Regions from separate parts of the Homo sapiens genome. Here regions 1, 2, 3, 4, 5 and 7 are each linked to region 6. Evidence: promoter capture Hi-C in 16 types of primary human blood cells and fetal thymus (Javierre and others, 2016). All regions are on one chromosome and are shown on one strand. The core of a region is centred on a gene start or on the middle of the fragment in contact, and the rest is flanking DNA. Distances in the headings are between cores, read along the strand shown.

The links. The method cuts DNA at HindIII sites, captures the fragments that hold promoters and counts their contacts. A CHiCAGO score of 5 or more calls a contact.
Region 1: a contact is called between a fragment that was not itself captured here and the fragment with the promoter of PICK1 in region 6, in 1 of 17 cell types (endothelial precursors). The highest score is 5.7, in endothelial precursors.
Region 2: a fragment that was not itself captured here is called in contact with the fragment with the promoter of PICK1 in region 6 in 5 of 17 cell types (M2 macrophages, total B cells, naive B cells and 2 more); the score reaches 6.5 in M2 macrophages.
Region 3: a contact is called between a fragment that was not itself captured here and the fragment with the promoter of PICK1 in region 6, in 1 of 17 cell types (M0 macrophages). The highest score is 5.3, in M0 macrophages.
Region 4: a contact is called between a fragment that was not itself captured here and the fragment with the promoter of PICK1 in region 6, in 2 of 17 cell types (M1 macrophages and endothelial precursors). The highest score is 5.9, in M1 macrophages.
Region 5: a contact is called between a fragment that was not itself captured here and the fragment with the promoter of PICK1 in region 6, in 6 of 17 cell types (endothelial precursors, M0 macrophages, M2 macrophages and 3 more). The highest score is 9.0, in endothelial precursors.
Region 7: a contact is called between a fragment that was not itself captured here and the fragment with the promoter of PICK1 in region 6, in 2 of 17 cell types (endothelial precursors and M0 macrophages). The highest score is 9.1, in endothelial precursors.

Annotation. Positions count from the first base shown.
Region 1 is chr22:38,447,557-38,451,236 of GRCh38, reverse strand. The region is part of intron 1 of KCNJ4 (potassium inwardly rectifying channel subfamily J member 4); the gene reads left to right. Among named protein-coding and RNA genes, the nearest start is that of KCNJ4, 5.8 kb to the left of the region's middle. The HindIII fragment of the contact is 3,753 bases long and covers 1-3,605 here.
Region 2 is chr22:38,502,845-38,506,501 of GRCh38, reverse strand. It overlaps DDX17 (DEAD-box helicase 17), which reads left to right and starts at 191. Exons shown (of 13, transcript NM_006386.5): 1 at 191-551. The coding sequence starts at 265. RefSeq lists enhancers at 1-234, 166-355, 235-1,126 and silencers at 446-715, 746-915. The HindIII fragment of the contact is 328 bases long and covers 2,054-2,381 here.
Region 3 is chr22:38,484,317-38,487,968 of GRCh38, reverse strand. DDX17 (DEAD-box helicase 17) reads left to right here. Exons shown (of 13, transcript NM_006386.5): 12 at 1-90; 13 at 1,529-3,652. The coding sequence ends at 2,034. Among named protein-coding and RNA genes, the nearest start is that of KDELR3, 18 kb to the right of the region's middle. The HindIII fragment of the contact is 8,417 bases long and covers 1-3,652 here.
Region 4 is chr22:38,519,734-38,523,493 of GRCh38, reverse strand. It overlaps DMC1 (DNA meiotic recombinase 1), which reads left to right. Exons shown (of 14, transcript NM_007068.4): 13 at 1,770-1,886; 14 at 3,405-3,760. The coding sequence ends at 3,474. Among named protein-coding and RNA genes, the nearest start is that of DDX17, 15 kb to the right of the region's middle. The HindIII fragment of the contact is 1,114 bases long and covers 727-1,840 here.
Region 5 is chr22:38,555,641-38,559,224 of GRCh38, reverse strand. The region is part of intron 5 of DMC1 (DNA meiotic recombinase 1); the gene reads left to right. Among named protein-coding and RNA genes, the nearest start is that of DMC1, 13 kb to the left of the region's middle. The HindIII fragment of the contact is 1,237 bases long and covers 857-2,093 here.
Region 6 is chr22:38,055,714-38,058,976 of GRCh38, reverse strand. It overlaps PICK1 (protein interacting with PRKCA 1), which reads right to left and starts at 1,573. Exons shown (of 13, transcript NM_012407.4): 1 at 1,390-1,573; 2 at 1,127-1,224. The coding sequence starts at 1,167. RefSeq lists enhancers at 872-1,495, 1,740-1,799, 1,496-2,121. The HindIII fragment of the contact is 5,557 bases long and covers 846-3,263 here.
Region 7 is chr22:38,537,843-38,541,414 of GRCh38, reverse strand. DMC1 (DNA meiotic recombinase 1) reads left to right here. Exons shown (of 14, transcript NM_007068.4): 9 at 2,003-2,094; 10 at 2,803-2,876; 11 at 3,006-3,120. Among named protein-coding and RNA genes, the nearest start is that of DMC1, 31 kb to the left of the region's middle. The HindIII fragment of the contact is 1,273 bases long and covers 1,613-2,885 here.

The sequences.
Region 1 (3,680 bases), core at 480-2,979, 390 kb before region 6:
GTGAGGCCGAATAACATCCCCACTTCCAAAATCCTAGGAGTCTTTGGTGTTTCCCAAAGAGGAGCTGGGAAGCAGTGCCCATCGCTTCCCCGCTTCCCAGCGAGGAAACACATTTGCTCGCCAGGCACTGGGCTAGGAGCTTTTGCAAATTCCCATTTAATTCTCCATGGCAATGTTGATTTGATGTCCCCGTGTTATAGATGGAAGGGCCATGGCTCAGAGAATCTATGTGATTTGTCCAGGGTCACACAGTAAGACAGCAGAGGAGCCTGGGTGTGAGTTCAGACTAGTCTGATTCTCGGGGGCTGTCTCTGGGGCTTCCCTGGGGAAAGAGTGGAAAACGTTCCTCCCTGGGGCTGGGGCTTGGCAGGAGATGGTCTAGACGCCCCCACAGCGTGACACCCCCTCAGGGATCCTCTGGCTCCTCTGGGGGCTCCATTCTGAAGACAGATACCACCATGCATCTTAGGGGAGAACTCATTTCATAGATGGGAAGACTGAGGCCCAGAGACAAGGAATGACCTGCCCGAAGGTGCCCAGAGAGTTAGATTAGGGCCAGGCTGCCTGTCTCCTGGCCCAGGGCTCTGTCCCCTGTGCCAGTGAGTGAGGAGGGGCCTTTGGGCTGACGGTGGTGGCATGAGGTGTGAGGTCGGGAATGCAGAGGGCTGAGAGAGGGCTGGCTCCAAGCTAGGGCTGCAGGAGGAAAGTTATCGGCGCAGGGAGAGGGGAGCAGAAGGGAAATGGCACATGTGCTACAGAGCCTGGTGAGGTCAGTGGGACCTGGCTGGCAGGAGAGGGTCTTGGAGACAACTTCCTTGGGTGGCTCTCTGTGTGACCTTAGGTCAGTCCCTCACCCTCTCCGAGTGATGTCCACCCATCCATGTGAACCTGGGCTGAAAGATCTATTTCCACCGAGTAGCTGTGGTTGGGCTGCTGTCGAAAAGCGCTCCTCCCAACGATGGGAGGACTGTGGGTCCTGGCAAGGGGCAGGCGGGAATCCTAGGGGTTGGCATAACCTTTAAGCCTCCTCTGCGGACTCAGCCCTCCTTGGGGTGTGGGGGATCGCCAGTCACAGCCCTTCTTCTCCTTTTCATCTTTATTTTTCTCCTGTTCCCTCTTCCCCTCGCTACGTGGGCTGATCGCTGCTCAAACTTTTAATTCAGATGGTAATTGAAATAATAATATGGGCTGAGGCCCCTCTGCTTGTGACGCTGCAGCTGGTGGAGCTCGGCTATGAATAGACCTTGAGTCACACACGCGCGCTCCTGCAGGCGCGCACACGGGCGCTCACGGGGTGGTGGGTGGGGTGCAGCATGGGGAGCAGGGGTGAGCTCACGCTCTGGCTTGCTCTGGTCTTGGCCCCCCACTCCCAAAGGTCTTGACCAATCCTGGCCCCGTGGCCCAACACGGGGTCCCTGTCGTGAACCTGGAAGACTTTGGACATAGATGATTCTCATTTACAGAAGGGGAAACTGAGGCTCAGCAAGGGGAAGTGGCTGGCTGGAAACAGGCTGGATTTGAATGGATGGGTTTTGCCTGATTCTAAGACCACTGTTCTCTGTTGGGACACACAGGGTGGGAAACCGGTGGGGAGGAGTGCTGGCGTGTGGCCCCTGCCCCTCCCTCTGCACCCGTTGCCCCACCTGCTCGCAGCCCCCTTTCAGCCTGCGCGTGCATGCTCAGGCACAGACACAGGCACACACGCATGCGCATGCGTGAGGGCTGCTCAGATGGCTGGTGCCGTTGCTTGGTGGCTGGGGTGAGAGCAGTGTTCTCAGGGTATTGCTGCAGGAGGGAAGCTGAGTGCCAGGCTCAGCGCTGGGCTTCATATTCATGATTTCACTTAATCCTCCACCACCCTGGGAGAACCATCACCCCCACTTCTCAGATGAGAATACTGAGGCTCAGAGAGAAGCAAGGATTGGTTCCAGGCTCCTGGGTGGAAACAGCCACAGATGCTTTGTCCTACTGTGCACCCAGTGCCAGCCCCTCCAGGACCCTCATTGGCCACCTGAAGGGAGGTGGGTACATGTCTGCCAGCCTAGGCCTCCCCTTTCCTTCCATGCAACAGCTCAGCCACTCCTCCCTGTGGCTGCTGGCCAGTCCCTGACCAGCCCTGGTGCCAACAGCTGGGACGTCTGGCCTTGGCAGGCAGGGGAGGGTGAGGTGCCCCAGAGAGACATTGGCAGGTCAAGAGGTCCTTAGGGGCTACCAGGAAAGGGGGTCCTTGGTGTTCCCGACCCCAGCAGGAGCTGTGGAGGGAGAAGTCAGCGTTGTAATGGTGACCTGTCAGCTGGGAGCTTTGGTCTAGGCCTGGGGGGCCCCCAGCAGGGCAGAGGGGAGCTGGGGCATGGGAGGTGCAGTTGGGCGGAGGAGCTCCCTGGGACTGGGATGGAGGAGAAGCCCCCACCAAGCCTGGCCCAGCAGCTCCTGTCTGCGGCTGCATTGGCCTTCTCTCCATTTCCTCTCCTGGGAGATGGAGAAACCGAGTCCGGAGACCACCAGGGTTTGCCCAGGGTCACTCAGCAATGGTGGCAGAGCCTCTCAACCCGGAGCTGCTCCTGACTCCTCTGTGTCCTGATGGCTCCCAGGGCTGCCGGCCCCTCCTCTCTCACTGACACTCCCCAGAGCTGTGGGGTCTGTGGGAGGCGAGCAGGGTCTGGGTCTCTTTAAGCTCCTTCTCCCCAGAAAATCCCCAGATCGGAGCGAGGGGAAGGGCAGCACTCCCTGGTCACAGCAGTAGGAAGGGTGGCCTGCGTCAGGGGCCTGGGATCGAATCCCAGCTCAGCCCCTCACTGGCTCCGCATGACCTTGACTAGGCCACTGTCCATCTGGGGGCCTCTCTTTGCCCCTCTGTGTATCGGGGGCCACCCATGGGGATGGTGGGGCGTGCTCAGCCTTTTCCTGTTTTGCCTGTCCTGGGAGAAGCTCACACACCAGCGACCCGGGCTGCAGGGATGGGAGGGTTCCTTTTTTTTTTTTTTTTTTTTAAGACGGAGTTTCGCTCTTGTCACCCAGGCTGGAATGCAATGGCACAATCTCAGCTCAGTGCAACCTCTGCCTCCCGGGTTCAAGCGATTCTCCTGCCTCAGCCTTCCAAGTAGCTGGGACTACAGGCATGCGCCACCATGCCCGGCTACTTTTTTCTTTTCTTTTCTTTTCTTTTTTTTTTTTTTTGAGAGTCTCACTGTGTCTCTCAGGCTGGAGTGCAGTGGTGCAATCTCGGCTCACTGCAACCTCCCCCTCCCAGATTCAAGTGATTCTTCCGCCTCAGCCTCCCGAGTAGCTGGGACTACAGGCGTGTGCCACCACGTCTGGCTAATTTTTGTATTTTTAGTAGAGACGAAGTTTCACCATGTTGGTCAGGCTGGTCTTGAACTCCTGACCTTGTGATCCGCCTGCCTCAGCCTCCCAAAGTGCTGGGATTACAGGGGTGAGCCACTGCACCCGGACGGGAGGGTTCTTTAGCTGGGCCACAGGAGAGGGTGCATGTGCTGTGGGGAGCTGACCCCATTTTACTGATGGGGAGATTCAGGCCTAGGGGAGGGGTGTGCCCATCTTCAAGTTGGTGGCAGAGTTGGCCCCTGGGACACCTCAGTGAAGCTTCCCCCAACCCCCTGCAGCTCCTCTCCCAGCCCCCACCCTAGACTCCCCCAGGAGCCTCCCCTCTCCTCATAGGC
Region 2 (3,657 bases), core at 968-3,467, 450 kb before region 6:
AACTCTACGCTCGCTCCGTACTTTGTTTTTCTTGTACAGACCGCAAAATACACCCATCGTCGCAACTGACGTAAAGTGCTTCCAAGAATACCCGTAGTTCCCCGCGGAGCCCTCGGGCTATTCCGAGGCGCTGTTTACGTATCGTCTCCGCCGTACGCAGCGTTAAGTTGGAGCCGACTCAGCGGCGGCCGCCATTTTGTGCAGTCGCTGGGAAGGAAGGAGACGCCTAAACCGCGGCACTGCCCGGTTTGAGCGTAGCCAAACCTGCCCACCGGCTTTGTAGCCCCGATTCTCTGTGTTTTGCTCCCGTCTCCGACGAGAGAGGCGGCGACGGTGGCGTCTGCGACGGGAGACAGCGCGTCGGAGCGAGAGAGCGCTGCGCCTGCCGCCGCCCCAACAGCGGAGGCGCCGCCGCCATCGGTCGTCACCAGACCGGAGCCGCAGGCCCTCCCGAGCCCGGCCATCCGTGCCCCGCTCCCAGATCTCTATCCTTTTGGGACCATGCGCGGAGGAGGCTTTGGGGACCGGGACCGGGATCGTGACCGTGGAGGGTAAGGGTGGGGGAGGAGAGGAGAGGCCTGGCGTGGGGGTGGGGGAGTTGCTTCTTGGGGAGGCCCGGCGGACTGCGAGCCTGGGAGCCTTGCTCTCGACCCGGGAGGCGAGGGGAGGCGACTCGAGGCGAGACAGCGGTTTCGTGCGCGGACCTCGGCCCCGGGGTCACTCGGGACCCGAGGAGGGCGGCCGCTTGGCGACGCTGGGCCTCTCCGTGCGGACGGCCGTCGTGGCGCGGCCCGGCCCCATCCCAGCCCCGCGGGGGATCGGGAGGGGCGGCCTGGCCGCATCAGCCCAGGCCCGGGCTTTGGCGCCTCGCCTGGTTTCCCGGCTCTCGAGCCGGGCCGCTTCGGGCGGGCTGTTCGATGTCTCCAGGCCTCGGCGTTCATCTGAAAAACGCGGATCTTCCTGAGAGAACACTTCAGCCCAGGAAAGCCTTACACGAAATGGCACCCTTGACGTTCTCTCCCCAGAGTTCACTGTTTAAGGCACGGGAGACGAAAAGACCAACTTCTCATTTTTAGAAATAGATTTTAATTCTCTTCAGTTATATTTTAAGTCGGAGGAAATGCATTGGGATGTAAAGCAGTGGAGTTGCTTGCCATCTAAATGACCGTGTTTGGGGGAAGGATGGGTTTTTGGGTCGTTACTTTAGTTTTAATCTTAATATTTCAGCCTTTTTTCTCTAATTGGACTGCAGCGTCAACTATTCTGCCTCGCTAGAAAGTTCTTGGTATTGTGGACCGGGCGTGGTGCCTCAGGCCTGTAATCCCAGCGATTTGGGAGGCCGAGGCGGGCGGATCACCGGAGGTCAGGAGTTCGAGACCAGCCTGATCAACATGGAGAAATCCCGTTTCTACTAAAAATAACAAAATTAGCCTGGCTTGGTGGCGCATGCCTGTAATCCCAGCTACTCGGGAGGCCAAGGCAGGAGAATCGCTTGAACCCGGGGGGAGGAGGTTGCAGTGAGCCGAGATCGCGCCATTGCACTCCAGCCCGTGGCAAGAGCGAAACTCCGTCTCCCCCGACCCCCCCGCTTCCCCAAAGAGTTACGTGACGCCACTTGATATGTGTGTGTGTGACCTTGGTCAAGATCCTACCTTTTGTGAGCCTGTTTCCTCTGAGGAACGTGATAATTGCCTTTACTTTGCTGTGTTGTCAGGAATTAAGAGATAATGGATGTAATAGTCTCACTGTAGTAGGCGCTCTGTTAACGATATTTTCTCCAAACGTTTTTGTCTTTTGTGGTTCAGATCCACAACTGCTGGATTTACTAGTCTCAAGCACTTCAGTTGCCACTTTTTACAAAATTATTTTGATTTATACCTTATTAGGAAGGAAAATATTTTATCTCATTGTTTAGAGGATGAGAGGTGGAATGTTTGCTTCGCGTGTGACAGTATTGCTAAGTTTAGAAGTGAATTTCAGTTCATTGACTTAGAAAAAGAACTTGAGATTATCTAGGAAAGTTGAAAACGACCCAGCAATTCCTCCCTAAGCTTTATACCCTAGACTGTAATGCCTAGAGAAATCCTTGCACAGGTACCCCAGGATCCTTGTACAGAAAAGTTTATATACCAGCATTCGTGCTAACAGGATATTGGAAACAACGCAAATGTCTCCATAAATTGTGGGTATTCGTACAATTGAATCAGCCGTGAAAAAGAGAAAAGAACTTGGATTAATGTGGATAAGTCACAGAAGTGTTGAGTTAAAAAGCACGTTGTGGTAGGGTGACACATTTAATTAAGGATATGTGCAAATATGATAGGAAAGGGAGTGGTTAACAAAATTCAAGGTAGTGGTTATTAGGGTGAAAGTTGTAAGCTTGAAATAGGCACATAGAGGGGCTACAAGTTACTAATAGTGTTCTATTTCTTTACCATTGGTGTTTGGTTTAATATTTCCTTTCACCATATATATGCTTTAATAAGTTATTTGAAAGGAAAAAAGTGAATTACTGATCCATACTTTGAGTATCAGATGACATTTTTTAAAAATTTCAAACGAACTAGCCTTCTTTCATAAGATCTGTGCCCCAACTCTCCCTTTCCCAAGAAATGTTCTTGATTATTTGAATTGCTGTTGTTTCAACTGAGTGTTACACAGTTGAAGTGGTGGTTATTTTGAAAAAGGAATAGGTGAGGTCAGTTCATGTATTTCACATGTGTGATGCAAAAATGATAGGCATTGTACATTTGAAGTAGTATGGTTTTTAATGTTAATATATGACTTCAAAGGTGAATTTTTTTGTAAAGCCAAATTAAACTAATTACTGACCGGATAAAAACATTTGAGCAGCATAGTATACCAGAGAGTACAGTGTGCGTATTTAAAGATGGCATGGATATGCTCAAAAGTAAAAGGCTTTCTTGAATTTTGAGGTCATTAATTATGTCAGCATTAATTATAAACATGGAAGACGGCATATTTTCCAAGAACCACATGTTTCAAATTAAATGTTTAGTGTAGAATAGAATGTCTTGAATAAATAGCCAGGGAAGTAAGGAGAGAGGAAAAAAAAATACATGAATGATAATCATCAGTTTAAAGCCTTAACAGGAATCTTACTTTCAAGTTTTATTTTTTCCTAAGTCACTAAGGTTTGGGTAGCATTGCAATGTGGCAATAACAATGAAGTCTTTTATAATTTGCAAGAGTGATAATCCAAAGACTTTCTACCTCTTGAAAAGTACCTTATTTAGCTGCTTCATTTGCAAGTGTGGCGGGAGCGGCAATTGAGGTGGCCTTTTGGTCTGTTCAGTATTGAGTCTTAAGCTGAGGGGCATATTAAATATGTCGCTGACACGGGTATCCCTATGCTATGTGCTCTTCCTGTTCTGATTCTTAATTTGTCTTCACTGTCTCAGTAGTGGTATAAATGGAATTAGCCAAGTTCTGCCTGTTGAGTGTAGGTATCCAGTGATCCCAATAAAATCTCCTGCCATCAATTTTTGTTACGTATGTATTTAGAGGAATGTCTGGCTGGTTAAGCCAGAGTTCTAATGGCTTTGAATTGCAGGAAATTGAGGCCCTGTAGAATAATACACCTACTTGCCTATCAATGATAAAGTGGAACTTTATATAAGATGAAGTTACAAGTGG
Region 3 (3,652 bases), core at 497-2,996, 430 kb before region 6:
AGCTTATCAAAGTGCTGGAAGAGGCCAATCAGGCTATCAATCCAAAACTGATGCAGCTTGTGGACCACAGAGGAGGCGGCGGAGGCGGGGGTAAGGGTAAGTCCTGGAGTTTTCCAGGTACTGCCAAGGTATCTCTTTACGCCTTCTGTGACTTGCTTTTAGTTGCTGTTTTTAAGAAGGCTGTAAGTATGTTGCTTAATAGCAAAGGACACTGCCTAATGCTTTTTATAACCTTTTTCAACTAAGAAAACGTGAAGTTTGTTGTGATAGTCCTATTAGTTAAGCTAAATTGTGAATTTTTTTTTCTTAGAGACTGGTCTGAGGTTTGGTTTTGTTTGTTTGTTTGTTTTGAGACGGAGTCTTGCTCTGTCGCCCAGGCTGAAGTGCAATGGCGCGATCTCAGCTCATTGCAACCTCTGCCTCCCAGGTTCAAGTGATTCTCCTGCCTCAGCCTCCCAAGTAGCTGGGATTACAGGCACCCGCCAGCACACCCTGCTAATTTTTGTATTTTTAGTAGAGGTGGAGTTTCACCATGTTGGCCTGGCTGGTCTCGAACTCCTGACCTCTGGTGATCCACCTGTCTTGGCCTCCCAAAGTGCTGAGATTACAGGAGTGAGCCACCAAACCTAGCTGAGGCTGGTCTGTGGAGTTTCACCATGTTGGCCTGGCTGGTCTCGAACTCCTGACCTCTGGTGATCCACCTGTCTTGGCCTCCCAAAGTGCTGAGATTACAGGAGTGAGCCACCAAACCTAGCTGAGGCTGGTCTGAGTTTTAATGTGGTTGCTTTGGCGGGGCGGGGGCAGAGACAGTCTCACTCTGTTGCCCAGACTGGAGTGCAGTGGCACGATCTCGGCTCACTTCAACCTCTGCCTCCTGGGTTCAAGTGATTCTCCTGCTTCAGCCTCCCAAGTAGCTGGTACTACAGGTATGTGCCACCATGTCCAGCTAATTTTTGTATTTTTTGTAGAGACAGGGTTTCACCATGTTGGCTGGTCTTGAACTGCTGACCTCAAGTGACCCTCCTGCCTTGATCTCCCAAAGTGCTGGGATTACGAGAGTGAGCCAGTGTGCCCCCGGTCATGGTTGCTTTTTTAATACTTTCAAAAATGCTTAGTAGTATATTAGGTTTCCAGTTTTCCATACGGAGAGGTCAGTCATTTTACACTGTTTAGTGGTGGGTAGAAACTGAGACATAGCAGTTGCATCTACAGTTGCAGAATATCCTAGGATCTGGGCTTCCTGACTCAAGGTTTCATATTGTAATACCGTGTTTCTTGATCATCCTCAAGTAAGGGGCCTAAAAGGGTGAAAAGGTCTAGTGTCCTTTAATTTTTACTGTGCTTTTGAATGTGCCCCATTAAAGAATCAAATTATGAGTATATTTTTACAGTACTAATTGGGAGGCTGGCCAGCATAACTAAATATCAAGGAGACATGTTTAATACTTTTGTACCCAGTAGAATTTTTACATTGTTATGTTTAGGTCCTATATCTGCCATTAAAAATCTTCTTGTATCTTCCCATTAGGTGGTCGTTCTCGTTACCGGACCACTTCTTCAGCCAACAATCCCAATCTGATGTATCAGGATGAGTGTGACCGAAGGCTTCGAGGAGTCAAGGATGGTGGCCGGAGAGACTCTGCAAGCTATCGGGATCGTAGTGAAACCGATAGAGCTGGTTATGCTAATGGCAGTGGCTATGGAAGTCCAAATTCTGCCTTTGGAGCACAAGCAGGCCAATACACCTATGGTCAAGGCACCTATGGGGCAGCTGCTTATGGCACCAGTAGCTATACAGCTCAAGAATATGGTGCTGGCACTTATGGAGCTAGTAGCACCACCTCAACTGGGAGAAGTTCACAGAGCTCTAGCCAGCAGTTTAGTGGGATAGGCCGGTCTGGGCAGCAGCCACAGCCACTGATGTCACAACAGTTTGCACAGCCTCCGGGAGCTACCAATATGATAGGTTACATGGGGCAGACTGCCTACCAATACCCTCCTCCTCCTCCCCCTCCTCCTCCTTCACGTAAATGAAACCACTCAAGTGGTAGTGACTCCAGCAGACTTAATTACATTTTAAGGAACACTGTCTTTCCTTTTTTTTTCCTCTTCGCCTTTTCTTTTTTTTTCCTTTTTTCTTTTTTTTTTTTTAATTTTTCCCCCCAACCATCGTGATTTGTCTTTTCATGCAGATTAGTTAGAATTCACTGCCAGGTTTCTTCTGCCCACCAAAATGATCCAGTCTGGAATAACATTTTGTAAAAAAAAAAAAAATATATATATATATATATAGCTGACTGGAAGAGATTAATTTCTTCCCCCAACTTCTTGCATGTTGAAGATATTTGAGCTATTTTTCATCTAAAAGAGTAAGGTATTAGGCCCTTTTGTGGGAGCCCCATGTTTTGTTTTTCTGAGTTGGTGGGGAGGGAGGGAGGGGGAGGGCTGAATTGTTTTGCAGAGGAAGATGGCATCTGTGCTTTAAATTTCTCATTACTGGGTTAGAAAACAAAGAGGGATTGCCCTGCACATTTTCTTTTGTGCTTTTAAATGTTTCTTAAGTTGGAACAGGTTTCCTCGGGCCTGTTTTGACTGATTGCTGGAGTGCATTTGATAGTTAAAAATTACTAATTGGTTTTATTTCCCTTCACACTCTGCCTCCCCACTTCTCCCCCCGTTACTGAAAAATAACCATTTTAGTGTCAGGCTAGAAATTGAATTGCTGAGTTTTGTGTATCCTTTAAATTAAAAACCACAAGTGTTTATTGTAGTGGTTAAACTGTAGCATCTCAGCATCTGGGTGGAAGCTGCCTATATTTCTTCCCAGTTTAACTGGGGACCATCTGTGAAATTAATTTTCCATCCAGACAGCTGCTGTGAGCAAATGAACATAAATGCTCGCTGGAAATTTACTAACCAGTTTTTATATTGACCTGCAGTGTAAAAAGCACATTTAATTATAAACAATATATTCAAAATGGGCAAATTTTATTTTCAAATGCAGTGTAGAGCTAGATTAAAAGCAACTCTTTGCCACCTACTCTGCCCTTTTGGCAAAGTTACCTTGAACAAAGAATCTTAAGGGTTTATTAAGAACTCTTTATTTTCTTCATACCCTGTTCTCTGCAGTGCTTTCTAACAGCTTCTGGGTGCAGATTTTCTTCGGCATCCTTTTGCACTCAGCTTATTACAGGTAGGTAGTGCTTAAGAAAAGTCATGGAGGACTAAAGCCTAAGTCCTTTTCACTTTTCCTCCATCTGAAGGTAGGTGAGTTCATCCTCTTCATGGTAATGCTGTTTTACCAAGACTTTATAGCAGATGGACCCAGAAAGAATTTTCTGCTATTGTGTTCACTACAACAGGATAGGGACATCAGACAGCCCCAGAAACCCCTTCCAGATCTGATATGGGACTATTAATTTTTATGCTGTTAATTGGTATTCATTCACAATGCAGTTGAAGGGGGAAGGCTCCACTGCATTCTTTGGCTAAGGCCTGAATGCTTGCTCATCTGTAAGATCTATACTCGAGGTTTTGTTTTCCTTTTAAAATTCTTTAGGGAGAGAGGGATGGTTTCTGAGGGGTTCTGAAAGTATGATTCAATGTGCAACATACAGGTAGGTCTTCAGCATAAGCTGAAATATATGCATGT
Region 4 (3,760 bases), core at 34-2,533, 460 kb before region 6:
ACATTACAGAAGCATAAATACAGTGTTTGCAGGCTCGGAGTTCATAGCTCAGTTGAGAATATCCTCAGGGTCTCAAGCAGCCCATCTATATAGAACATAAGATTATTTTAAAACCATGAAGAACCACCTGTAAGGTAGGGTGACCTGAAAAGTTAAGTGGCATCGATCTGTAAGCATTATAGAGACAACTCACTTATCTAGCTATTTTATCCAACTGAGAAGGCTTTATTGCTTTACTACCATGTCAGGTGCCTGGCAAAGCAACCCAGCTTTCTGACTTCTTAACTGCCGCCGTTAGTCTCAACTGTCTGGCTACTACTTTCTTGATAGTGGTTCACTCCAAAACTAACTCTTTGTCCTTGTTCCTATGTTGGACCTGCTGCATTTGCATTTAAAACATTTTTTTAAAAATGTTTTTAAGAGGGCCTCACTATGGTGCCCAGGCTAGCCTCTGAATTCCTGGGCTCAAGTGGTCCTCCTGCTTCAGCCTCTCAAGTAGCTGGGACTACAGATATGTGCCATAGTGTCCAGTTTCTACTGAATCTTAATCCTATTCAGCACCAACCAGGGGTCTTCTGGTCCTAACCTCTGAGCCATTTAATCAAGTAGCAGTTTATCTCAGCAAACTCCTTTACCAAAGAGCTTCTTATCCCGACCAACCTACAGTCTAAATATATTTAACCTCATGCCAATCAGCTACATCCTTGCTATACCAAGCCTGAAGCTTAGAGTAAAACCAGAATCATGAACACTTTAATGGAGCAAGCACAACTTGAATTGACTTGTAACTATATTCTTTCAGAACTGAAGCTATTATTCTATATCATAGTTTATTTTGATCAAGTATAACCTTTAGTTTGTGCTGTTCCCTTATTGATGATTTCTAAGCCCACATTTTCTTTTTTTCTTTCTGTTTTTGTTTGTTTGTTTTTTGAGAAGGAGTCTTATTCTGTTGCCCAGGCTGGAATGCAGTGGCTGATCTCAGCTAACTGCAGCCTCCACCTCTTGGGTTCAAACAATTCTCTTGCCTCAGCCTCCAGAGTAGCTGGGATTACAAGCATCAGGCACACGCCACCACACCTGGCTAATTTTTGTATTTTTAGTAGAGATGGGTTTTTGCCATGTTGGCCAGGCTAGTCTCGAACTTCTGACCTCAGTGATCCACCCACCTCGACCTCCCAAAGTGCTGGGATTACAGGCACGAGCCACCGAGCCCAGCCAGTAATCTCATTTTTTAAAGTCAGGCTGGGCACAGTGGCTCGTGCTTGTAACCCCAGCACTTTGGGAGGCCCAGGCGGGCAGATCATGAGGTCAGGAGTTCGAGACCAGCCTGGCCAACACAGTGAAACCTCATCTCTACTAAAAATACAAAAAATTAGCTGGGCGTGGTGGTGGGCACCTGTAATCCCAGCTACCTGGGAGGCTGAGACAGGAGAATCGCTTGAACCCAGGAGGCAGAGGTTGCAGTGAGTGAGATCACACCACTGCACTCCAGCCTGGGCGACACAGCTAGACTCCATCTCAAAAAAAAAAAGTCAAACAAAATATAAACTATTTATCATAGGAATCTCAAAAGCCTAGACTAGATGGGGTATATAGCAGCTCCAAAACTCACCTCACTCCTTAGTTTATGAACAAGCCTCTGCTTGTTTAGAATATACACTTATTCCAACTCCTGACATCCACCACAGAAAGATTGCCTTGTAATTGCAGATATTGCCATATATAGTCCATATGATGAAACCTGAAAGAGTATTTTATTAATTCAGCTTTCAGGCAGATCCCAAAAAACCCATTGGGGGACACATTCTGGCTCATGCTTCAACAACAAGAATAAGCTTGCGAAAGGGAAGAGGAGAGCTCAGAATTGCCAAGATTTATGACAGGTAAATTTTTTTTTATTTTGTGTGTGTGTGTGTGTGTGTGTGTGTGTGTGTGTGTGTGTGTGTGTGTGTAGAGACGGGGTTTTGCCATGTTGCCCGAGCTGGTCTCAAACTCCTAGGCTCAAGCAATCCTCCCACCTTGGGCTCCCAAAGTGCTGGGACTATAGGTGTGAGCCACCACAAGGCTGTAATTATTACTGCCAGATGCTGTGTGTTTGAATTTCTTTCTAAAAAATTATTCAATTTATTGGGAAGTCCCTACTGTTACTAGGTACTAGGGATTGAGGGATTCTATTGACACATAGACTTGGTCCCTGACCTTTCAAAGCATACACCTAGATAATGAAATCATCAATTCCAATTAAATTGTGTTAAATACAAGGTAAGTATCAAGTATGGGAACATATCCTCCTTTCTTTTTGCCAGGTTAACTCTATTTGTTTTTCAGGTTTCAGTTTAAACATCACTTTCTCAGGGAACCTTTCCCTAACCCTTACAGTCTAGGCTACTCAGTATATTATACCCTATATTCTTTCTCAGCACTTTACGTGTTTAATTAAGAATTACAGATTTTGGCCCGGCACAGTGGCTCACACCTGTAATCCTAGCACTTTTGGGAGGCCGAGGTGGGCGGATCACCTGAGGCCAGAAGTTTGAGACTAGCCGAGATCGCGCCACTGCACTCCAGCCCGGGCGACAGAGTGAGACTCCGTCTCAAAAAAAAAAAACAAAAACAAAAAACAAAAAAGAATTGGATAACCTGGGAGGATGTGCTAGACAACCTATGTTTCCATGGAAGGTACTCAGTAATCTTTTAATTTATTTCAAAGTATTTTACAGTTTGCTCCTACATTAGTCTAGTCATAAGAAAGGTGCATACCCCTATAGAATCAGATAAACCTCTAAGGGGCTGCTATACAATGCCTGACACTATACTAAAAGAACATCCAGTTGGCCAGGCGCAGTGGCTCACGCCTGTAATCCCAGTACTTTGGGAGGCCGAGGCAGGCGGATCACCTGAGGTCAGGAGTTCAAGACCAGCCTGGCCAACATGGTGAAACCCCGTCTCTACTAAAAATACAAAAATTAGCCGGGCGTGGTGGCAGGCACCTGTAATCCCAGCTACTCAGGAGGCTGAGGCAGGAGAATGGCTTGAACCCAGGAGGCAGAGGTTGCAGTGAGACGAGATCTCACCATTGCCTGGGGGACAAGAGCAAGACTTCGCCAAAAAAAAAAAATTAAAATAAATAAATGAAAGAACATCCAGTTATCCTTTCACCTGTTTCCAAGTTTGGAGTAATTTTTCTTGACATTCAGAACTTTATATATAGAAGTTGCTCAATAAATGTTTGTGAGGGTTAATAATACTTGTGGGTAAGTTCTGTAGGCCACATTTGGTTGTACCAACTCTGAGATGTCTCTGGAGATTCAGACTGATGGGCACATAATGCCTGTGACATGAATATAGTATTTATAGAAATAGAGCTTTTTATAAACTTCTGTTCCCTTGTATTCTGTTAGTCCTGAGATGCCTGAAAATGAAGCCACCTTCGCAATAACTGCTGGAGGAATTGGGGATGCCAAGGAGTAGGTGGTGAATTGATGCAAATTGCTTCTTAGTGCTTATTAGGAGCTGAAGAAATGGAAAAGCAGTCTCCAATTTCACATCTTGAAATAGAGGTTTTTTCCCACATGTTACTAAAGAAAAGTCAGCAAAGAGATTTAAATCTTATATTTATCTTAAAAGTCCCTGATTTATGATAACTATACATTGTATGTAAATTCAGGGATATGTATATGTATGTTTGTGTGTGTGTGTGTTTGTGTGTGTATACCTGACATATATAGTAGATATATATACCTATTGAAATTCTCTC
Region 5 (3,584 bases), core at 226-2,725, 500 kb before region 6:
ACCCCGTCTCTACTAAAAATACAAAAAATTAGCCGGGCATGGTGGCATGTGCCTGTGGTCACAGCTACTCGGGAGGCTGAGGCAGGAGAATCGCTTGAACCTGGGAGATGGAGGTTGTGGTGAGCCGAGATCGTGCCACTGCACTCCAGCCTGGGCAATAGAGTGAGACTCAGTCTCAAAAGAAAAAAAGAAAAAGAAAATACCTGTTTAACCCAGCATTGTCCCAGACTTTTAAAATCACATACCCTTTTTTCAAGTAAAGTTAAGGAAGAGGCTTGGAGAAATCCTACCCCTAGGCAAATTGGTCAAAATGAGGTTGATCAACAAAACACTTGATTCAAATGACAATCTGATTTTCTTTAGTTACTCTACCACATGGTGGTCTAAGAACCACTGGGCTAAAGAAATAATTACTGTTATTGTGAGTTTTCTGGTGCCCTTGATGTTTGCTCTTGAGAACAGAAAAGATCATTCAGGAGCTAGGTTTTTTTTTGTTGTTTGTTTGCTTTTGAGACAGAGTCTTGCTGTGTCGCCCAGGCTGGAGTGCAGTGGCATGATCTCGGCTCACTGCAACCTCCGCCTCCTGGGTTCAAGCAATTCTCCTGCCTCAGCCTCCTGAGTAGCTGGGACTACAGGTGTGTGCCACCACACCGGGCTAATTTTTGTATTTTTAGTAGAGACAGAGTTTCACCATGTTGGCCAGGCTGGCCTCGAACTCCTGACCTCAGATGATCCACTTGCCTCGGCCTCCCAAAGTACTGGGATTACAGATGTGAGCCACTGCGCCCAGCCAGGAGCTAGGTTTTTAAAAATTAATATTTAATTAATTAAAATATTATACATTTTTCCTTAAGCTTTAAGTCCCTTTATAAATCTAGCACATTTTAAGGGTGCTTTTATAACAAGATTAAATTCTCTTAAACATTTTAATTATGTTTATACATTTAGTGTATTGTATTTTCTTTAAGAACTTTATTTGTTGGCCAGGTGCACTGGCTCACACCTGTAATCCCAACACTTTGGGAGGCTGAGGCGGGTGGATCACAAGGTCTCTACTAAAGACAGGATCACCCTGTCTCTACTAAAAATACAAAAATTAGCCGGGCATGGTGGCGGGTGCCTGTAATCCCAGCTACTCAGGAGGCTGATGCAGAGAATTGCTTGAATCCAGGAGGCAGAGGTTGCAGTGAGCCAAGATCACGCCACTGCATTCCAGCCTGGGCGACAGAGTGAGACTCCGTCTCAAAAAAAAAAAAAAAAAAAAAAAAGAACTTTGTCTAATTATCTAATTATTAACAGCAAAATCTTCCCAATTACCTAAATATCTTTTGTAACTCAAATAAATTTAGAAGTATAGTGAGTTGTAGGCACCATTAAATGTTCAAATACTATTTATAAAATTAGTTATCAACTTGAAAATTGAAGGAATGTACCATTTAATCAGTCAGAGGCCAATCCATTACAAAAAGGTCAAATTATCTTAAACGTTAAAAGGTCTCAAATAGCAAATATGCACAGGTTATTACCAAATTTATTTATTTATATTCTATTTTATTTTTTGAGACACGGTCTCACTCTGTCACCCAGGCTAAAATGCAGTGGCTCCATCACGGCTCACTGCAGCCTGAGTAGATGGGACTGCAGGCACAGGCCAGCATACCTGGCTAATTTTGGTATTTTCTGTAGAGACTGGGTTTCGCCATGTTATCCAGGCTGGTCTTGAACTCCCAGGCTCGAGCGATCCACCTCCCTCGGCCTCCCAAAGTGCTAAGATTACAGACATGAGCCACCATGCCCATATTGCCAAATTTAATATGAAAATAGTAATCTATGGGTTTGATTTGTGTCTCTATTTTTAAATCTCCCTATATTTAAAAACACTATTTCTACACTTAATTCTAAATTTTCCTGAGTCTCAAAAAGGAAACAATTGTGCTATCCCAAATAATTTGGGGTATCCTCACAGGTAAATTTTGGGGTTACCTTTTCAGCTGATTGAGATTACATATCAACCAGGAATTTTGTCTGGGATTTTCCAGAGGTATAGCTTTCCAGGGTAATTTTTCTCAGGAAGAAGAGGGACAAATAAAGCTTTCTTTAATAGTTGCTAGCCCAACCACCATGGCACACGTTTACCTATGTAACAAACCTGCATATCTGGCACATGTACCCCTGAATTTAAAATAAAAGTTGAAGAAAAAAATAGTTGCTGGGCCTATAAGATTTCCAAGTGTATTCCCTCCAAATGGGTTGATCGCTTAGCCCATGTCCTTTAGATTTAAGTTGTGCAGGTACACTATCTAGATTTTTCTTTTCCTTATTGAAGTCTGCAGCCCTCACTAAATTTGTGGATAACTTCCAACATTGTTTCAATTTACATTTAAATTGCTCTCTTAAACTATGTAAATGTAAATGTATTGGATTATCTATATATCTTAAATTTTTGTCTGACCTGTGATCACATCCCAAAAAATCATGTTAATAGACTACATACAAGGTTTTTAAAGTGCCCCTACCAGGTCTTAGCACAATTAACACAATTAATATGTGTTGCATTTAATGAATGAATGAGATCATGACTTAAATTTAGGCCTTTTCTTATTCAGAGCTTTAAATGCACTACAACATTGGGCTACCAATTAAATGTATGCTGTCAGAATCTGACAGTTACTCTTCTAACTGCTAGCATTACCTACAACATCTTTGACATTTACTATTCTGACATGTCCTCCATAATATTTGGTTTATGTGAGATAACCTGACCATAATGACAATCACTGGATTTTCCTAATACCTGTTTTTCATATGTTTTTCAGTATATTAAAAACTGAAGCCGGGCATGATGGCTCATGTCTATAATCCCAGCACTTTGGAAGGCCAAGGTGGGCAGATCTCTTGAGCCTCAGGAGTTTGAGACCAGCCTGGGCAACATAGCAAGACCCCAGCCATACAAAAAATAAAAAATTAGCCCTGTGTCAGGTGACAGAACAAGATTCTGTCTCAAAAAAGAAAAAGAAAAAACATTGAAAATTCAATTGACTATAGAAACATAGTTCCAGCACAATATTAAATACCCAATTAATAACTAAGATGGGCTGGGCATGGTGGCTTATGCCTGTAATCCCAGCACTTTGGGAAGCCAAGGCAGGCGGATCACCTGAGGTCAGGAGTTCGAGACCAACCTGGCCAATATGGTGAAACCCCATTTCTACTAAAAATACAAAAATTAGCCTGGCGTGGTGGCAGGCACCTGTAATCCCAGCTACTCGTGAGGCTGAGGCAGGAGAATCTCTTGAACCTGGTAGGCGGAGGCTGCAGTGAGCCAAGATCACGCCACTGCATTCCAGCCTGGGCGACAGAGCAAGACTCCATCTCGAAAAAAAAAAAATAATAATAATAATAATTAAGACGATCTGTAACTCCAATTCAATTCTAAAGACTAGTAAGACATAAGGCCTTGCTAACCCATTTACTATTTTTTTAAGTTTTTTCTTAAAATAATTTATTATTATTATTTTTTAAGCCTACAGCATGCAGTATTCCCAGGTTCCATTTACTATTGAAGTAAGAACGATAGGGCTTAT
Region 6 (3,263 bases), core at 324-2,823:
AGAGTGCAATGGCGCAATCTCGGCTCACTGCAACCTCCGCCTCCCGGGTTCAAGTGATTCTCCTGCCTCAGTCGCCCAAGTAGCTGGGACTACAGGTGCCTGCCACCACGCCTGGCTGATTTTTTTGTATTTTTAGTAGAGACGGGGTTTCACCATGTTGGCCAGGCTGGTCTTGAACTCCTGACCTCAGTTGATCCGCCTGCCTCAGCCTCCCAAAGTGCTGGGATTACAGGCGTGAGCCACCGTGCCTGGCCAGCTATGGGACTTGGGTAAGTCAGCCTCTGTGCATCTCAATTTCCTCATCCATAAAATGTGGATGAGCACCCTTATCAGAGTTCTTCTAACCATGCATGGAGGGCACTAACAGCAACCCAGTCCATAGCAGGCACTCCATAAAAATAGGTCCCCCTTCCCTTTCATTTATTCGATCTCTGAGATTTGAGCCAGGTTCTGTCCTTGTCACCTTATCAGGCATCTATGTAGTATGATGGCCACCTACTCCAGGGAGTCTTCCTCTATTAAACTGTCCACCTCCCACCTCTCAACTGCTCGATTACCTCTCGGTTTCCACTATAAATTAGCATTGACTGGTGTTTTATGATAAGTACTCACGCTGATTCACTTATTCATTCAAAAAACATTCGCTAACAACCTACTGACGTCAAGTCCCTTACTAAGTGCTGAGCATAGAGAAAGGCATTGCACCCACTCCTTGATCTGAAAGAGGATATATTCTAATGGGAAAATCTGTCCTACTAACAACCTATGTTGGGAAGGAAGGGTGTCTACAATATTCCTATTCAACCTTCAAAACCTGGTTCAATTGCTACGTCCTCCATGAAGCTTTCCTTGACCATCCCAGCAGAAGCACTGCTCCATCTGCTTTGCTCTTCTTGTCACCAAGTCATGCTAATAGTGCCCTTATGGCACTGAGCTGTGATTATCCCTTTAACTGTCCACAGCCCCCTACAAATAGTGAGCTCCTGGGAGAGCAGGGTCCATTGCTGCTTCAGTACAACAACTGATCCACCGCTGAGAAGCAAGGGTCTGTGGGACTGGGAAGTCCAGGGAAATGAGGAACTTGGGGCTCCTATACTGCTGGAACTTGGGGGAATAAAATACTCACAGTTTATCCTCTTCGATGTCATAATCCAAGTCTGCAAACATGGTTCCGAGAGTTGGAGTGGGCTGGCTAACTGCCCAGCTCGGTAGGGGAATGGGGAACTGGATCCGGGAGAGAAAGGAGCATAGGATTTAAGGAACCCAAGTGCCTAAATGCCAACGCCACCCCTCCCTCCACCACCTCATACGGGACAGCAGTGCCCTCCTCTTCCCTCTGGAGTGGGATGGGACAGTCTCCGGGTGGGGGGCTGGGTAGGTGATTCTTACTAGGTACAAAGGGGGGCTCCAGGCCAGGGCGATAGGCTCAGATCCCAGAGTCCGCCCCACGGGTCTCCAGGCCCTGGGGAGCTGCCTCTGTCGCTCACCGGAAGCGTTGGTCCCACAGCCGGGTCCCGGCCAGGCTGGTACCTGAACCCACCTGCCGTTCCACCTGGCGGTGGCCGCGATTGTCACGTCACTTCCGGCAAGACGCGGAAGTCCCGGCTTTCCCCCCACTGGATATTTGCTCCAATCCCTGCAGACAATCCTTCCCTTCCCGGCTCCCGGGACGCTCGGAACCAAGAACGAGAACAAGTATTGGCGGAAGCTCGCTGTTAGTAGGAACAAGCGAAAACAGAGGAACGGTCTGGACAGGCTGACAGCGTCTAACCCCGCCCTTTGCCCTGCCGCCGCCGCCATCTTGGGAAGGGCAGGGTTTGTCCCAGCTTCCTCAGCTGCACTCAGGGGCCCGCGCCGGCCCGGCGGTTGCCATGGCAACGAAAGCATCCCTGAGCCGGGGTTACCTCCGGCGAGGCTCAGTGGACTATAAACCCCAAGACATCATGCCCTTTCACCCCTTCACCACCTGGGCCTGTGACTCCCCTACTAGAATGGCCCTTTGAGGTCCCAGCCCATCCCAGTTTCGCCAACTTAAGTGCCAAAGAGCGGGGAGTGATTTTGTGCGGGGCCACACACAGTTGGTGTAAGATCTGGATCGTGGCCCTGAAACTCCCGCCGCCTAGTCTAGGGATCTTTGAACGTCCAAACACTAAACAGAGAGCCAGGAGAGGTGTATTCAGTGGGTCTTGCTATTAAGGACAGACTGGACATGCTCCCTTCCCTTTATGTGCCTCAGTTTCCCCATATGTAAACCAAGGCCATTGAGGTAAATGCTTTCTATGGTATATGGTGAAAGGTTTCTCACACCCCCTCCTCCTTCCTTAGTCCTGAGGAGCAGCCCCCCTGGGGTCCCAGGGAGGGTCACGGTCCGCATGTACCTGAGGCTCGGGAAATGCTATCAGTGCTCCCCAGAGTCCGAATCTTGTCTCCTCGCCAGCCTCTGCTGCCACTGCTATTGTGTAAAGTGGGTTCCCTGGGGGAGGTTGGCTCTCCCAGAGCCACAGCCAGGCATCCACCTCATCCGGCAGCATGGGGCCAGGCCCATCCAGCTTGCTTCCCCAGCTGCCCCAGGAGCCATGGAAGAAAGATACAGAAGGATGATTATCCACATATCCCACGGCCGGTGGAAGCCCCGCCCTACTCTCTCCTTAGGTGGCTAATTGAGTCCGGACAGATGTGCAGAATGCCGTGACAATAACAGCCTTCCCACGTGTCCACTGCTCTCCTGTGAGATCACTTTCACAGGATTTGAAAGCTCACCACCACCCTGTGAGAGAAGACCAAATCTTGCCAGCCACATTGTGCAGGCAAGGAAACGGAGGCCCTGGGAAGCCTCTTCCTCTGGTATCATAGCGGCAGGGCTGGGGCTGGGAAAACCAAGCTCTGTTTCCAGGCCAGAATTTTGGTTTCAAAAAGCAGCAGTCTAAGGCCAGGTGCGGTGGCGCACACCTGTAATTCCAGCTATTTGGGAGCCTGAGGCAGGAGAATCGCTTGAAAATAGGAGAGGGAGGTTGTAGTGAGCCGAGATCAGGCCATTGCACTCCAGCCTGGGCGACAGAGAGAGACTCCGTTTCAAAAAAAAAAAAGGCAGCAGTCTCCAAACCCAGGTGCCTTAACATGGATTGTGGCTCTTCCAGCCCATGACCATGCTAGCTCAGGCCCAGGCTCTGCCATTTTGTAGCTGGGAGATCTTGGGTGAGTCGCTGTCTCACTCTGAGCCTCAGGTACGTGTAGAATGGGGAAATGACACCTGCCACCAGGTA
Region 7 (3,572 bases), core at 1,000-3,499, 480 kb before region 6:
GATGCTCAGGCAAGAGAATCACTTGAACCAGGGAGGCAGAGGTTGCAGTGAGCCGAGATTGTGCCACTGGACTCCAGCCTGAGCAACAGAGTGAGACTCCATCTCAAAAAAATAAAATAAAAATTTTTAAAAATATATAAGTGATTAACTTCTTTTGATCTATAACTAAGATCTGAGTCCTAAAGACATTCCTCTGGAGCCTCAGTAAATTTACTTAATCTAAATGGGTCCAGGTGCTGGGGTGATTACCCTTATCTTATCTCCTGCTAAATCATGGAGGTTTGGGGAGTTCCTTCAGACCCCCAATAACTTGTTTGTGGAGACCTAGGGAGTTTCTTCAGGCCCCCAGTAAAACTCGTTTAATCCTAAACAGGTACTGTTAAGAATTTCTTCATTATCTTGTCATGCTTCAAGGCCCAGGAAAGGCCTGGGCAAAACTCTTGGTGGCCTTTTGTTACATTCCAGCCTTTGTATAAGGGCACTTTCAGCTTTTAATATTTAACTTAACCACTCAGTCAGTGCTGAAACAGTTGTTATGGAGGCCTGCATTAGTAAGACCTGGCCTGCCACAACATAGTATCTGGGATTTGTAGAAACCGACATGATGAAAATGTTTTTATTGCCTCTTCCAATTCCCTGTCTAACTTGTCCACCAAAAACATCTACTGGGTATACTCAATAACAATGGAAGATTTTTGTGGCTGTCACCAAAGCTCTAACAACAAGAACATATCTAGTGCATTAGGATATAAATGGCTGGGAATTTAAATTAATTGCAAACATCACAAATAAGATTATAAATGGTCCTTGATTTACAGTTACTTATACTGGGATCAGTGTTATGTAAACACTATAAACAAAGTGAAATAAGGTTACAAACATGCATTTAATTTTACCTCATTTTACTTCAGACATATTGTTGGGATCACCAAAGACCTAAAAAAAATGTTTATTACTCCTTTATAGTTTATAGGTATAAGTGATTATTAGCTTCTTCCAGAATACTTTTGCAGGTGCACTTAGTTTGCTTCCCTATGAATTTGCTAATTTCAGAAAGCTAACAACTCCTGGCTAGGCATGGTGGCTCATGCCTGTAATCCTATCACTTTGGGAGGCCGAGGCAGGCATATCACTTGAGGTCAGTAGTTTGAAACCAGCCTGGCCAACATGGTGAAACCCCGTCTCCACTAAAAATACAAAAATTAGCTAGGTATGATGGCTCGCGCCTGTAATCACAGCTACTCAGGAGACTGAAGGAGGAGAAAACAAAAAAAAAGCTAACAACTCCTTTAGAAGAAAGTAGATTTTAAACTGTATATACTTTCCAGGTAAGATTTGAAAAGAAAAAGAAAACCTATGCCAACAAAAAACCTTTGGTCGATATTTCTCTTCTGGGCCCTTGAAGTTACCTTTTTGACCCTTTGGTTCATGTAGTCAAATTTATCATTTAACAACATGTGATTAATAATATAATAAACTATTTCATATTGAGGAATGAGGGGTATGAAGAGAGTGAATTAATTCACTTTGCAGTTATTGAATTATAATTCAGTGATATTATCTATTACAGGTCTATTTTTATAGATCTGAGAACAAAAGGACTCACAAAGCTTAGTTCCTAGTTTTTCTCTTGTAACTGATTTGCTGCATAAGCTCAAGTCATTTGCCTAATCTCTGTTTGCCAGTGTCTTACGTTGTAAAATGTAAAACAGGCCATAAAAACTAGCTTCCAAGGTTATTGTAAAGTTTTGATAATTTAATAGTTAAAGTCATTACTGCCTCACATTTCTATGACCATTATCACTACCTATGGTAAGTTGAGGCACTTATGAATAAACAAATCTTGTATAGACTTTAAATGGTTGCTAGCATCCTCTAGAATACCTTCACAGGTACATTGTTTGGCTTCTCTGTTAATTTACGGAAGATATTATGTTTTGTAGTGGTTGTCTAAACTTTTTTAGAATTGACTTATTGGATCCTTAATCTTGGCATACTCCAGCCGTCCAGATCGCCTTAGGGACATTGCTGATCGCTTTAATGTAGACCATGATGCAGTACTGGACAACGTACTTTATGCACGTGCATATACTAGTAAGAGCCCCATGCAGTTGGATGCTTGGGTCAATGTAAGGTTGGCAGCACTGATTTACTACTTGAGGGATACAACATTTTGATACTTTTTTTCTATTTTATTTTTCTCTAAATTAATTTACTCAGTCTATAAATTTTATCATCTGGTAAGTCCTTAGATAATAAAGTGCCCTCAAATTATTTATTATTCTTTGTCTTTGAAATTAAGAGTAACATTCTTTTTGGATAATGTAGCATTTGGTATACATGCTAAGGCAGAATATGCAATAATTTTTTTTTTTTTTTGAGATGGAGTCTCGCTCTGTCACTCAGGCTGGAGTGCAGTGGTATGATCTCGGCTCACTGCAACCTCCAACTCCTGGCTTCAAGTGATTCTCCTACCTCAGCCTCCCAAGTCGCTGGGATTACAGGCACACGCCACCACACCCAGCTAATTTTTGTATTTTTTAGTAGAGTCAGGGTTTCACCATGTTGGCAAGGCTGGTCTTGAACTCCTGACCCCAAGTGATCCACCTGCCTCGGCCTCCCAAAGTGTTGGGATTATAGGCATGAGCCACCATGCCCTGCTGCAATAATATTTAATAAAGTCATCAATAATTAAGAAAATCCTTCAAGGAATTTATTTTGCCTGGCTCCCAAGAATATGAATGATCTTAGCCTCTGCTTCTTTCAACTTTTATAACATTTTCTCACTGCATTTCCCATCAGGTGAACATCAGATGGAGCTACTTGATTATGTAGCAGCAAAGTTCCATGAAGAAGCTGGCATCTTCAAGCTATTGGTACAAGCTTTTAAATATTGCTTTCACAGAGCTATTTAGCATAATATTTTTCTTCTATTGATCTCTATTCAAATAACGTCTTCCTTCAATTTCCAAATGCATGTTTATTTTTACATTAATCCTGTGTAGATTATCGATTCAATAATGGCACTTTTTCGAGTGGATTTCAGTGGCCGTGGGGAGTTGGCCGAACGGCAGCAAAAATTGGCCCAGATGTTGTCACGACTCCAAAAAATCTCAGAAGGTATATCTTTAAAATAAAATGGCATCTGTGACTATGTTTGTCAAGTATACTTTGCAGAGAAGCTTGGAATATAATGTCAGGAGGCAGCGATTTTTTTTTAAATAAAATTACCTTTATGAGAATACAACTCTTTGTTTTTTTTTTGTTTTTTGAGATGGTATCTCGCTCTGTTGCCCAGGCTGGAGTGCAGTGGTGCGATCTCGGCTCACTGCAACCTCCGCCTCCCAGGTTCAAGCAATTCTTCCTCCTTAGCCTCCTGAGTAGCTGGAATTACAGGCACCTGCCATCACACCAGGCCAATTTTTTGTATATTTAGTAGAGACGGGGTTTCACCATGTTGGCCAGGCTGGTCTCGAGCTCCTGACCTCGTGATCTGTCCGCCTCAGCCTCCCAAAGTGCTGGGATTACAGGCATGAGCCGCTGAGCCCGGCTTTACAACTCTTTTTAAACCA